Linked DNA regions of Homo sapiens: regions 1, 2 and 4 are each linked to region 3. Evidence: promoter capture Hi-C in human tissues and cell types (Jung and others, 2019). All regions are on one chromosome and are shown on one strand. Each heading gives the region's core, a stretch centred on a gene start or on the middle of the fragment in contact. The rest is flanking DNA. Distances are from core to core; before and after follow the strand shown. Region 1 overlaps LINC00622 (long intergenic non-protein coding RNA 622). Region 2 overlaps WARS2 (tryptophanyl tRNA synthetase 2, mitochondrial). Region 3 holds the start of HAO2 (hydroxyacid oxidase 2). Region 4 overlaps WARS2-AS1 (WARS2 antisense RNA 1).

Region 1 (2,905 bases), core at 202-2,701, 230 kb before region 3:
AAACAGCTTTACTGAGGTATAATTGACATAACATTCGCTTGTTTTAAGTGTGCAGTTAAATTATTTTCAGTAAAATTTTAGACTTGTGTGACCATCACCATGATCCTGTTTTGCAACATTTCTATCATTCCTAAGAAATCCCCTATGTTCATCAGTCACCACCACTTTTTCCCAGTCCCCAGCTCCAGGCAACCTCTAATTGACTTTCTGACTCTACAGATTTGCCTTTTCTGGAGACCATATAAATGAAATCATGCAATATGTGGTCTTTTGTATCTGTCTTCTTTCATTTACTTTAATATACTTTTATGGTTCATGTATGTGGCAGCACATATCAATATTTTAATCCTGTTAGGGGACAAATCCTATTAAATTGTATGGATAGCTCCCATTAGTTTATTCATTTATCAGTTGATACATATTTGAGTGTTTCTACTTTATGGACAATTATGGATAAAGTTGCTATGAATATTCACATTCATGTGTTGTGTGGACATAGGTTTTTTTCTTCTGGGTAGATAGCTAGAAGTGATAGTGCTAGGTCATATGGTAAATATATCTTCAACATTTTAAGATACTGCCAAACTGGTTTCCAACGTGACTGCATGTCCCATCAACAATGCGTGAGTGTTTTAGTTTTTCCACGTCATTATTTCACTTCCCCCAGGTGTTACTGTCCTTTTTTATTATAGCATTCTAGTGGGTAAGAAGTGGTGTCTCACTGTAGTTTTGATTTGCATGTCCCTGCTGACTGATGATGCTGACCATCTTTTCATGTATTTTATTGTCTATTCCTACACCTTTTTGATGAAATGGTTATTCAAATATTTTGCCTATTTTAAAATTGGGTTATTTATCTTTTTGTTGCGTAGTTGTAAGTGTATTTCATATTCTGGATATGAGTCCTGTATTAAATATATGATTTGAATTTTTTTTCTCAGTCTCTGGTTTATCTCTTCATTTTCTTATTGGTGGCTTTTAAATGCCAACATTTTTAGTTTTGATCCTGTTTCATTTTTCAACTATTTTTTAACCAGGAAAAGTTGGGTTTTTGCCTAATTCAAGATCATGAATATAATAATCTATGTTTTCTTCTAAGAGGTGTATAGTTTAGCCCTTAAATTTAGGCCTTTATTTTATTTTGAGGGAAGTTTTGCCTATGTGTGGGTTAATGGCCTAAATTCATATGGCCAATTGATTTTGACAATAGCAAATTCAATAGGGAAAAAGATTGTCTTTTAAACAAGTGACACTGAGACAACTGAATTGTCCACATGCTCAGGGAATGTCAGCCTGCTATGTCAAGTGGTGCCCACCCGAGTCACCACCTATTGACATCAGAGTGTGTGAAGAATTTCTCAATATGATAACTATGGGTTAAATAATATGCTGTAGCTTTCTGCTCCTCCCATTCGACAGATAGCCGCATCTTCTTGTGCAGCGCCAGCCGCATCCCTGAGACACCATGGTAAGGGTGAAGGCCAGAGTCAATGGATTTGGCCCCATTGGTTGCCTGGTTACCAAGGCTACTTATAACTGGTAAAGTGGATATTGTCACCATCAATGACCCCTTCATAGTCTACAAATTCCATACTACATGGTCTATGTATTCCAGTATGATTCCACCCGTGGTGAATTCCATGGCACCGTAAAGGCTGAGAACAGGAAGCTTGTCATCAATGGAAATCCCACCACGATCTTCCAAAAGCTAAATCCCACCAAAATCAAATAGGACAATGCTGGCACCAAGTACATCATAGACTCCAGTGTCGTCTTCACTACCATGGAGAAGTGTGTGGCTCATTTGTAGGGGCCAGTTAAATGGATCATCATCTCTAACCCCTCTGCTGACAGCCCCATGTTTGTGATGGGTATGAACCATGAGAAATATAACAACAGCCTCAAGATCATCAACAGTGTTTCTTGTACCACCAACTGCTTAGCATCTCTGGCCAAGATCATCCATGACAACTCCGATTTAGTGGAAGGACTCATGACCACAGTAAATGCTATGATTGCCACCCAGAAGACTGTGGACGGCCCCTCTGTGAAACTGTGGCATGACAGCTGCAGGGCTCAAAGGAACATCATCCTTGCATCTACTGGCACTCTCAAGGCTGTGGGCAAGTATATCAATGAGCTGCATGGGAAGATCACTAGCATGGCATTCCAGGTCCCCACCACGAACATGTTGGTCATGAACCTGACCTGCCCTCAGGAAAAGCATGCCAAATATGATAACATCAAGCAGGTGGTGAAGCAGCATCAGAAGGCCCCCATAAGGGCATCCTGTGCAACACTGAGAACCAGGTTGCCTCCTCCAGCTTAACCATTGACACCCACTCTTCCACCTTCAATCCTGGGACTGGCATTGCCCTCAGTGACCACTTTGTTAAGCTCATTTTCTCATATGATAATGAATTTGGGTACAGCAACAGGATGGTGAACCTCATGGCTCACATAGCCTCCAAGGAGTAAGACCTCTGGGCCACCAGCCCCGCGAGAGCATGAGAGGAAAAGAGAGGCCCTCAGCTGCTGGGGAGTCCCTGCCACACTCAGTCCCCCACCACACTGAGATTCTCCCCTCCATGCAGTTTCCATGCAGACCCCCTGAAGAGGGAGGGGCCTAGGGAACCCCACCTTGTCGTGTACCACCAATAAAGTCCCCTGTCTATGCTCAGAAAAAAAAAAGCGGTATTAGGAAAGCTCACAAAGATTACTGATCAGCAAAAAAATAGACAGCATGATTTCTCCATCCTCCTATTTAATACTGATGCATAAATGGTCAGGAAATGCTGGGCTCACAATGGGAGTCTGCATTCCAGTGTAGGAACAATAGTCTCCCTTGTTATAATTTTTTATCATGTGAGCACAAGGATACAGCTTTATCAGTGGAGGAACACAC
Region 2 (2,740 bases), core at 130-2,629, 240 kb after region 3:
GGCGGAGCTTGCAGTGAGCCGAGATCGCGCCACTGCACTCCAGCCTGGGTGACACGAGTGAGACTACGTCTCAAAAAAAAAAAAAACAAAAAACAAAAAACTTTGCACAGTCCGGATCCAAAATACCTCTCTAGACCATTGCTATCTTACATAGATCCTTTGCCCTAGAGTTCACAAAATTTCCAAGTTTCCTCGGAGCTACTCCCTTTTACTTCCTTATTAATGCCATTACCTCTTCTTGGAAAGGCCTTTCTTCCTATCCTTATCTGTCTGTACTCTATCATTCTTTAAAAACAAAACAGAAATATGTACAGCTTTTTGCAATGTCAATTATACCACAATAAAGTGTTTTAAAACAAACAGCAACAACCAAAAAACCTCAGATATCGGTTCCAAAAACTTTGTTCTTAAGCTGGAAATGATTGCTTCCATTTTGAAATTTTATAGGACATTGTATCTCTCTTATAGAAAAAAATACATCCTTTATATTCTGTCTCTGTTTTTAGACATTTGCTTTAAGATAGATGGAAGAGCATGCTCTTTTTCATTTAGACCTTTTGTGAATACCTCAGCAGAAAACAGTTTAGTATGCACCATACCACAGGTGCAGCATAAGCTGCTACTCAACAGGCAGACCTCACCAGGCAGTATGTTTCTAGAGGCCACCACCAGTCATGAAAGACAGGAAGATTTGCCTGTTGAGCCGTGGCTGTGATAACTATGTGTGTGAGAAAATGAGTTATTATAATAAAGATTTAATTCTTAAATCTTTGGCATAATAACTCCTGTTACAGAAGGAGCTCAATAAGTATTTAATGAGTGAATGAATTCAGTGAAAAAAAATCAGTGAGACAACACATGAGACAGTGCATAGCATTGTCATCAAGGAGATTGTTGAACTTAAACCATACATTTTTGTGTGCATTTTTATTTATTTAATTACAAAAGTTGTGTAATGTTTGTTGCAGTTAATAAGTGATCTTATTATTGCCCAAAGTATCCACATGTTTATAAATGATTGGAAGGTCATACCAATTTTATTTCAACAATTTTCTGAGAGGGTATGAATTTCAAACTTGTCGCTTAACTGACTTTTATTGTCACTCTGGCCCTAATTGTATTTTTCACAGGTACCACTAATTATACTAGGATTTGCCACCTCTTTATATTATACTGAGGTTTGTTACATCTGTATATAGAAAAGTGTAGACATACTCAAGATTGAGATGAAAAGATTTTATTTTGAGTATGGTTTTGTCTCAAAGGACTGTCTAGTTCAATAAGTGTGCCATATTATCTATACAACAACTGATGTGGTTTTTGCTTTTATAATCAAGAGTATGCTTTCTTCAACTTATAAAGGAAATAAAAAGCTCATTTATTGTATTGACATTGCCTTTTTTTTTTTCTCATTTACCCACCTTAAGTCCCATTTAAGCAACCTGTCAAACCATGCCTAGCACTTTTGCTCTGTAGATCTTGGTATGCCCTGCATAGATGGAGAGAACAGCCCTAGGTCTCACTGCACCGTTACACGATGTAGACAGGCCATTTGTAAGCTAATGCAACTTCATTTTTCTTTGCACCTTGATAAATGCAGAGAAATGTGATTCAAGCAGATTTTATATCTATATAGCCAAGGTTGTGCAAAGAATTTATATTTTCTTCTTTTAAAGTGGCCAGTGATATTATAGTAGTTGGTCAGGAAAGCTTTATTGCAATGCTTGCTTACCAAATTGTCATTACATGTTTAATAAAACCTTTAATTGTGCTATATCATATCTGTTAGAGAGAATGGGATTTATTTTATTTTATTTTTTTTTTATTTTTATTTTTTGAGATAGAGTATCACTCTGTTGCCCAGGCTGGAGTGCAGTGGTGCAGTCATAGCTCACTGCAGCCTTGATGTCCTGGACTCAAGCGATCCTCCTTGTGATACTCAGCTTCCTGCGTAGCTGGGGCTACAGGCACAAACCACCACATTTGGCTGATTTTTTTGTTTTTTATTAAACACAAGGTCTCACTATGCTGTCCAGTCTGATCTCGAACTCCTGGGCTCAAATGGTGTTCCTGCCTCAGCCTCCCAAAGTGTTGAGATTACAGGTGTGAACCACTCTGCCTGGCCAAGAGGACGGGTTTGATTGTGGCATCTTTCTGGTAAATCTATGTCTAACTGTATTCAAGCTGCTATAACAATATACCATAGACTGGGTATCATAAACAACAGACATTTATTTGTCACAGTTCTGGAGGCTGGGAAGTCCAAGATCAAGGTGCTGACACATCCACGTCTGGTGAGGGCTTCCTTCCTAGTTCATTCTCTGAGATCTCTTTTATGAGGGCACTGATCACCTCCCAAAAGCCGCACCTCCTAATGCCATTACATTGGGAATTAGGTTCCAAAATATGAATTTTGGGAGGACACAAACATTCTCTTGCAGTCTGTGACTACAGTGGCCAGACATCTTGTAAAATCCAGAACCAGTTATACTTTATAACCATAAATCTTTAAAGTGTCTTTGAAATTTCAGTGTTTCAGCATCCACATGACATCTCCTGCACCATTTCTAACATTCTAAAATAGAACAAAACTTCTTTAGCAGACCATATTTCCTTAATTTTGATTGAGAATATATGAACATATCTATGACTAAAATAGAGACACAGCTTGCCCTCTTGTCTTTCTTTTCCATCTAACTAGCAGGGTTTTTGGTCAGGCTTCCATGACACCTGTCTTTTT
Region 3 (2,700 bases), core at 8-2,507:
AAAAGGGTAGCCCTGGAGATCAGCTGATATTGTGTAAGGAAGAAATAAATATTTATGTGTTATCTCACTAAGTTGTTAAGGTTTATTCTTTACTATAACATAGCCTGATTTAACATAATATATCAAAGTATTATGCTAAACACTAGAGATATGGGGGGGGACCTTTATCACATCAGTTTCTGCTCTCAAGAAGCTTACAGTCGAAGAAGACAGACTTTCATAGCTCATCATTTGATAGCTGATACGATTTAGAGTACAACAGGAGTCCCTTTGAGGGGAGAGTTACCTGGGAATTTGGCAATATTCCCATTACCTCTCAAATGATATACCACAAGTGATGTTCCACTCAATCTATTCTAGACAAGCTCCAATTCTCATCTATCTTTAAATTAGGTTATTACTGTCTATCTCATAGGGATCTTGTGAGAATTGAAGGATCTTGTAAAATGCAGAATATAGTAGTAGTTAAGAATAAAAGTTTGCGGATTTTGCTTCCTGCTAATGGACGCTTTATTCTGTTCCATTGATCTGTTATCTATCTTTATACCAGTACCTCCCTGTCTTCATTAGCGTTCTTGGCAGTTCTCCGCAGGTTGATCTGTAGATTCAACTTAACACAATCAGAGGCTCTTCATTAGTGGGACTTTGTAACCCATTTGTTCCAAATAAGCTTATTGCTCAAAGGAACTACATTGTTTGAGACACATTAACTTCTTTACTTTTTTAGGAGCATAGCCATGTCACTGTTTTCTTTTGCTTGTGGCCGGGAAGCAGTGGTCAGAATACTAAATATATCCCTGAAGGCAATAGCAATACCTTTTAGGTTTTCAGAACGCTGTCAAGTGAAAACATTTTAACCCATTTTTCCTCCTATGGACACCCACGAATATTCCACCATACAATTCTAAGACTCAACTTCCTAGACTTAACCTTCTCTGTCTGTATCCTTTTTGAAACCAAATCTTCCTTTGCCCATGCCCTCTGAGTTCCCTAACACCTGTCTCCCTAGGACCATCTTTGCCAAGGTCCTTGCCTTGCAAACTCATAGTTGGCTTCCACGATATCTTCCATTCCCATCCTATCTGGCACTTCATCACCCTTCTCAGTTCCAAGCACACAGAACACACTCAATGACAAACCTTATTCTAATGTCTTCCAGTCCTCAGGGAAAGAAGTGTTTAGACGCAGCCACTCAAAGCCTGGCTCACTGCCGGAGGTGTTAGGAAACACACCACATCACTACCCACAGTTCAGGCTAAAGAAGAGGCTGAAGTCTCAAAGTTAATCTTTTAATGAAAACATCCAGCTTAGCAGTAAATAAGCAACTAGGCCAGAGCAAGGTTGACTTTGAAAGAATTTTGCTGACTTTGCAAATTTACTTCAAAATTAAGTGAAGTTTATTACAAAATTAAACTTCAAAGTGAAGTTGTAATTTCCTACCTGAAATCACCCATTCCCTACCTCTAAATTCAAACTTGATGTTGTCCTCTGCTCATCACAGATTGTTAGAGGTAGGGAGTGGATGATTTCAGGTAGGAAATTACAAAAGTCCCCGGGTTGGAGGAGGGGCTTTTTGTGGTGATGGGGTTGGGGTGGGAGAAGAGCAAGCACAGCCTGGGAGCCCATGGGCAGGACAGCAGTGGGGACCCAGGCCAGGACGGTCCGAGCTTTGGGGATTTTGGAGGGTGCATAGTGTAGAGCCCTCCCTGCCCACAGAACTGTTCTGGGGAAGTAATTATGTCTAGATTAATATGGGAGTCAGGGAGAACCAGTGAAATTTTTGAGTGGAAAATTATTCAGGAATGTAGAAGAAATGCTAGGAAAAGCAAACTTAAAAGTACATGGAAAAATAGAATTAATTTCTCCAGAAGAGTTCTGTAGGGGTCCCAGAAAGGTCACTAATTTGTCCAGGTCTGTTCGTCTCCACTCCTCCCCCAGCTCTTGCCACTGCTCCTTAGTATTGCCACAGCTCACGTGTGTGATGCGCTTACGACGTGCCAGACACACTACACGCATTACTTCATTTGATCTTCACGGAAGGTCAATCTTTTCAAGATTGTCTCTTTTTCAGAAGAGAAAATGAGATTAACGAACATGCCCAAAGCCTTTCAGCAGTAAAGAGCAGAATTGGGATTTGAACCTAGCCTGTAGCCAACACACGGAGCAGAGGAGGCCGAAATCCTGAGCTGTACCGATGACCATAGCAGTGGGGTTTGCCTTTCCTTTAGAACCTGTAGTTAGAGAGCAAAATGATGAATTTACCACTGACTTGTCATACCATCTCCACTCAAGGCTCATTGGCTATTTATTTGGAGGGTAATCCCTACCTGCTATCTAGCCACTAGAGGACAGTATTACCTCAAAAATGCTTTCAAAAGTAGCCAAAATCTGGGTTCTGGAAATTTCTTTTCCATAGCAATTTTCACAATCTCCATAATCAGCCTCTAGGCCATGTCCTCGGTCAGCTCTCACAACACCTGGCCTGCTCACAGTCCCCTGATCCAGACCCTCCCTTGCTGTTTTCCAGACTCCGACTCTGTCTCTCCCTTCCAGAAGGAAGCCTGGTGATGAGCACACACTGGAACATGGTGCTCAAGCTCCAAACTGCAGCCACTCACTCACTAACATCCACATGTTACTTAAATTCTCTGTGCCTCAGTTTCCTCATAATACCTCCCACACTGTAATGAGAAGTAAGTG
Region 4 (2,944 bases), core at 87-2,586, 130 kb after region 3:
TTGTGCCTTACTGCTTTGCCACTTCTTGTGACCTTCAGCAAACCTCCTAACCACCTTGAACTTTTTTGTCTGTAGAGAGTAATAATGTTTACTTCATAGGGTGGTTGCAAGAATTAAGTGAGATTATATATATATATCTATCTCATATATACATATATCATATATATCATATATGTATGAGAAACTTGCGAATCATCCCGTAACTCAGCTCTCCCTAGAGAATCACTCATGGCCGACCTAGACATGTTTGCTTGTCAGTGAAATGAAGCTCATTGATGAAATAAAGTGAGTTCTGAAACAGGTCCTTCCATGGGTAGCTGTCTGCACTGGCATGCAGAGTGGGCTGTGGCTGACTTCCTGAGCTTAGGCTTTGAGGGGTGCTGTGGATGGCTGGAGAGATTCTCTGTGTGCTGGACAACTCCAGAGGTGCCTTGAGAACGTTGCAGAGATGTACACAGCAGAAGCAATGGAGACTTGAAATCAGTGTTGACAAGCTTGGTCCTTACCCTTTCTTATTTCCTTCATCTTCTACCAGCTCACAAGGAACTCAGGCTCAATGTTACCTCTAGTTTCAGTATAGATACTGAAAAAAATAAGTATGCAGGCAAACAATTCAATCCTTCTCAGTTAAGTCTTTTCTTCCTTAAAGTGGAGATATTACCATGGCAAATCTGAAGGGCAAATGAGATGTTGCATTTGAACGTGCCTAGCATAATATCCAAGAGGAGTGGACACATTGTTGAGTTTCCTTTGGGAACCTCTGTAAAGCTATCTCCCTATAGGGCAGCAGTAAGTCAACCATGCCAGAAAATGTTTCAGCTGCCTGGTAACCATCTAGTCTATGATTAACGGAGACATCAAAATAGCCATCATCTCCTACTCCTAACCAACAAGTCTCTGACACAGAAAGAAAGACAAAATATCCATTTTCCTAACTTAACTCCCATCCCTCAAGGTTGGAAAAAGGGAAAACTTAGATCCAGTCACCAATACCCAATTTGCCTTATATGACAATACATGACATGTCATGTATTTCTACAATACCTTATTTGCCTTAGATGACTTGTCATTTATTTCTACAATACCTTATTTGCCTTAGATGACATGTCATTTATTTCTACATGGCAGCCAACAAATGATTGCCAGGAACACTGGTGACTGTGGATCTGGGCAGAGGGGTCTGCCAGAGAAAGTAAACCATTTATTTACTCAGTATCTACTGAGCTGTTGTAAGTCCTTGTGTAACCTTATCTTCACAACAAGCCTATGAAATGGGTGGTATTATAATCATTTTGCAGATGAGGAAACCAAGACTCAGAAAGATTAAGTCGAGGTACAGCATACTAGGTGGCAGCTACCTCCCCCTTTTCCATCTTGCTTTTAATTTAGTTTTTCAACACATATTCCTATCATCTTGATTGCTTTATAGACCAACAATCCTTTAATCTACCCTAAAGAAGAAGCAGTATAGACCTGATTTCCATCTTTGAATCAGTCTGTCCAATTTCATCCAATTTCAAGCTAAGTGCAAGTTAAATTCAGTGTGTGTAGCATTAAATTCTACTGTCTACTAAAATATTAAACCTTGTTATTCTAGTAAGTACTGTCAAGCCCACATTGATGAGATAGTGAATAGTAAAGGTGGCATTATTGTAATTTTTAAGTTAAAGCCTGATTTGTTTGCTCATTTTTTAAAAAGCAAATTCTCATATAGTATGAACCAGTCCCTGAATTTTTTTAAACAATTATGTTTTTAAAAGTGAAATGAATGGAAATATGCTGTTTCCTGCTGTTTTCCCCACTCCTTTGCTCTCTTTCCCACCCCGTGTGCATATATTATACATTTCTTTCTTCCAGAGATGCTCACAGCTGTTTCTCTTCCTCTCTCTTGAGCTCTCTAGGCAGCTTTCATTCTTTCACTTAAGCATGCTTGGAGCCTCATGGAAACTCCCCCACAGTATGATTGCTTCCACACTTTCATATGCTTTAAGGAATATCAGCTGAGAACTGCTTATTGATCCCAAGTGGGGAATCCTCTCTTACAAAGCCGTTGGCCATTGATGAAGAAATGTTAAGGCATCCTTGTCCTTGTCCTTGTCCACTTCCAGTTCCTCATGCTGATGCCTCCCAAACTAGGCCCACCCTCAGCTCAGAGCCTCCTTTTCTAAATATTTCTGGTGGAGCTGCTTTTTCTATTTCTCAGACTCTGATCAATGGAACCACTTGGTCATTCTAGTTTTAAATTAGATTGCTATCCAGTTTAGGGATTTTATTTTGAAATCCAAATATGGAAAAGAGTTAGTTGCTCCCCAAGTGCTTAAAGTCTTAAGAGACAAGGTTTCCATCTGCTCAGGTAGCATCACCGGCTCATGTCTTCTTCCACCCACCAAGCAGCAGGAACACTGAGTGGCTGGGCCAGGGTATAGCAGGCAGACGTCGCAGATCATGCTATTCTTGTTTGGCAGAGCCAGCTTTACTGTAGCCTTGTCAGTGCTCAGTACTGCAGGAAGAAATGAAGGAAGGAGCCAGCATGTTTGGAGTGCTTGTTTTGCTCTAGGAAGTATCCACAACCTCTTGAGAAGATTCAATCCCACAATCCTAGAAAGTGAAGACTTTCCAAGGACCTCTCTCCTACCATCACTGTTTTACCAATGAGAAAATTGAGCCCCAAAAGTTGAATGGTTTGCCCAAGCCCACACAGCACATAAGTAAAAGTGACAGATGGCAGCCTAGCCCTCTGACTCCTAATTCAGTGCATTTTGCATTTCTCCACAGCTGGCAGGTGTTCCACATACTAAAAGCTCACATTGGAAATGAATTTGGTGCATTGGAAAGTGGCACTGTGATGCCTGCAATCGTTTAATTGTTACATATCAACATGACTAATATTCCAAAGGTGATGCTTCTTTTCTGCCCAGGCACTGACCTTGGAAGCTGCTGCCTG

The links. The method cuts DNA at HindIII sites, captures the fragments that hold promoters and counts their contacts. A contact is called where the count stands out against the background at its distance.
Region 1: a fragment that was not itself captured here is called in contact with the fragment with the promoter of HAO2 in region 3 in 1 of the 25 tissues and cell types used here (aorta).
Region 2: a fragment that was not itself captured here is called in contact with the fragment with the promoter of HAO2 in region 3 in 1 of the 25 tissues and cell types used here (pancreas).
Region 4: a fragment that was not itself captured here is called in contact with the fragment with the promoter of HAO2 in region 3 in 1 of the 25 tissues and cell types used here (thymus).

Annotation. Positions count from the first base shown.
Region 1 is chr1:119,595,740-119,598,644 of GRCh38, reverse strand. LINC00622 (long intergenic non-protein coding RNA 622) reads left to right here. Exons shown (of 1, transcript NR_036540.1): 1 at 1-943. It also overlaps the pseudogene GAPDHP33. Among named protein-coding and RNA genes, the nearest start is that of LINC00622, 2.1 kb to the left of the region's middle. The HindIII fragment of the contact is 4,404 bases long and covers 1-2,905 here.
Region 2 is chr1:119,128,812-119,131,551 of GRCh38, reverse strand. All of the region lies in intron 1 of WARS2 (tryptophanyl tRNA synthetase 2, mitochondrial), which reads left to right. Among named protein-coding and RNA genes, the nearest start is that of WARS2-AS1, 10 kb to the left of the region's middle. The HindIII fragment of the contact is 4,877 bases long and covers 1-2,740 here.
Region 3 is chr1:119,367,342-119,370,041 of GRCh38, reverse strand. It overlaps HAO2 (hydroxyacid oxidase 2), which reads right to left and starts at 1,257. Exons shown (of 8, transcript NM_016527.4): 1 at 1,140-1,257. HAO2-IT1 (HAO2 intronic transcript 1) reads right to left here and starts at 1,096. Exons shown (of 2, transcript NR_046780.1): 1 at 1,034-1,096. The HindIII fragment of the contact is 9,840 bases long and covers 433-2,700 here.
Region 4 is chr1:119,234,271-119,237,214 of GRCh38, reverse strand. All of the region lies in intron 4 of WARS2-AS1 (WARS2 antisense RNA 1), which reads right to left. Among named protein-coding and RNA genes, the nearest start is that of LINC01780, 93 kb to the left of the region's middle. The HindIII fragment of the contact is 3,453 bases long and covers 1-2,944 here.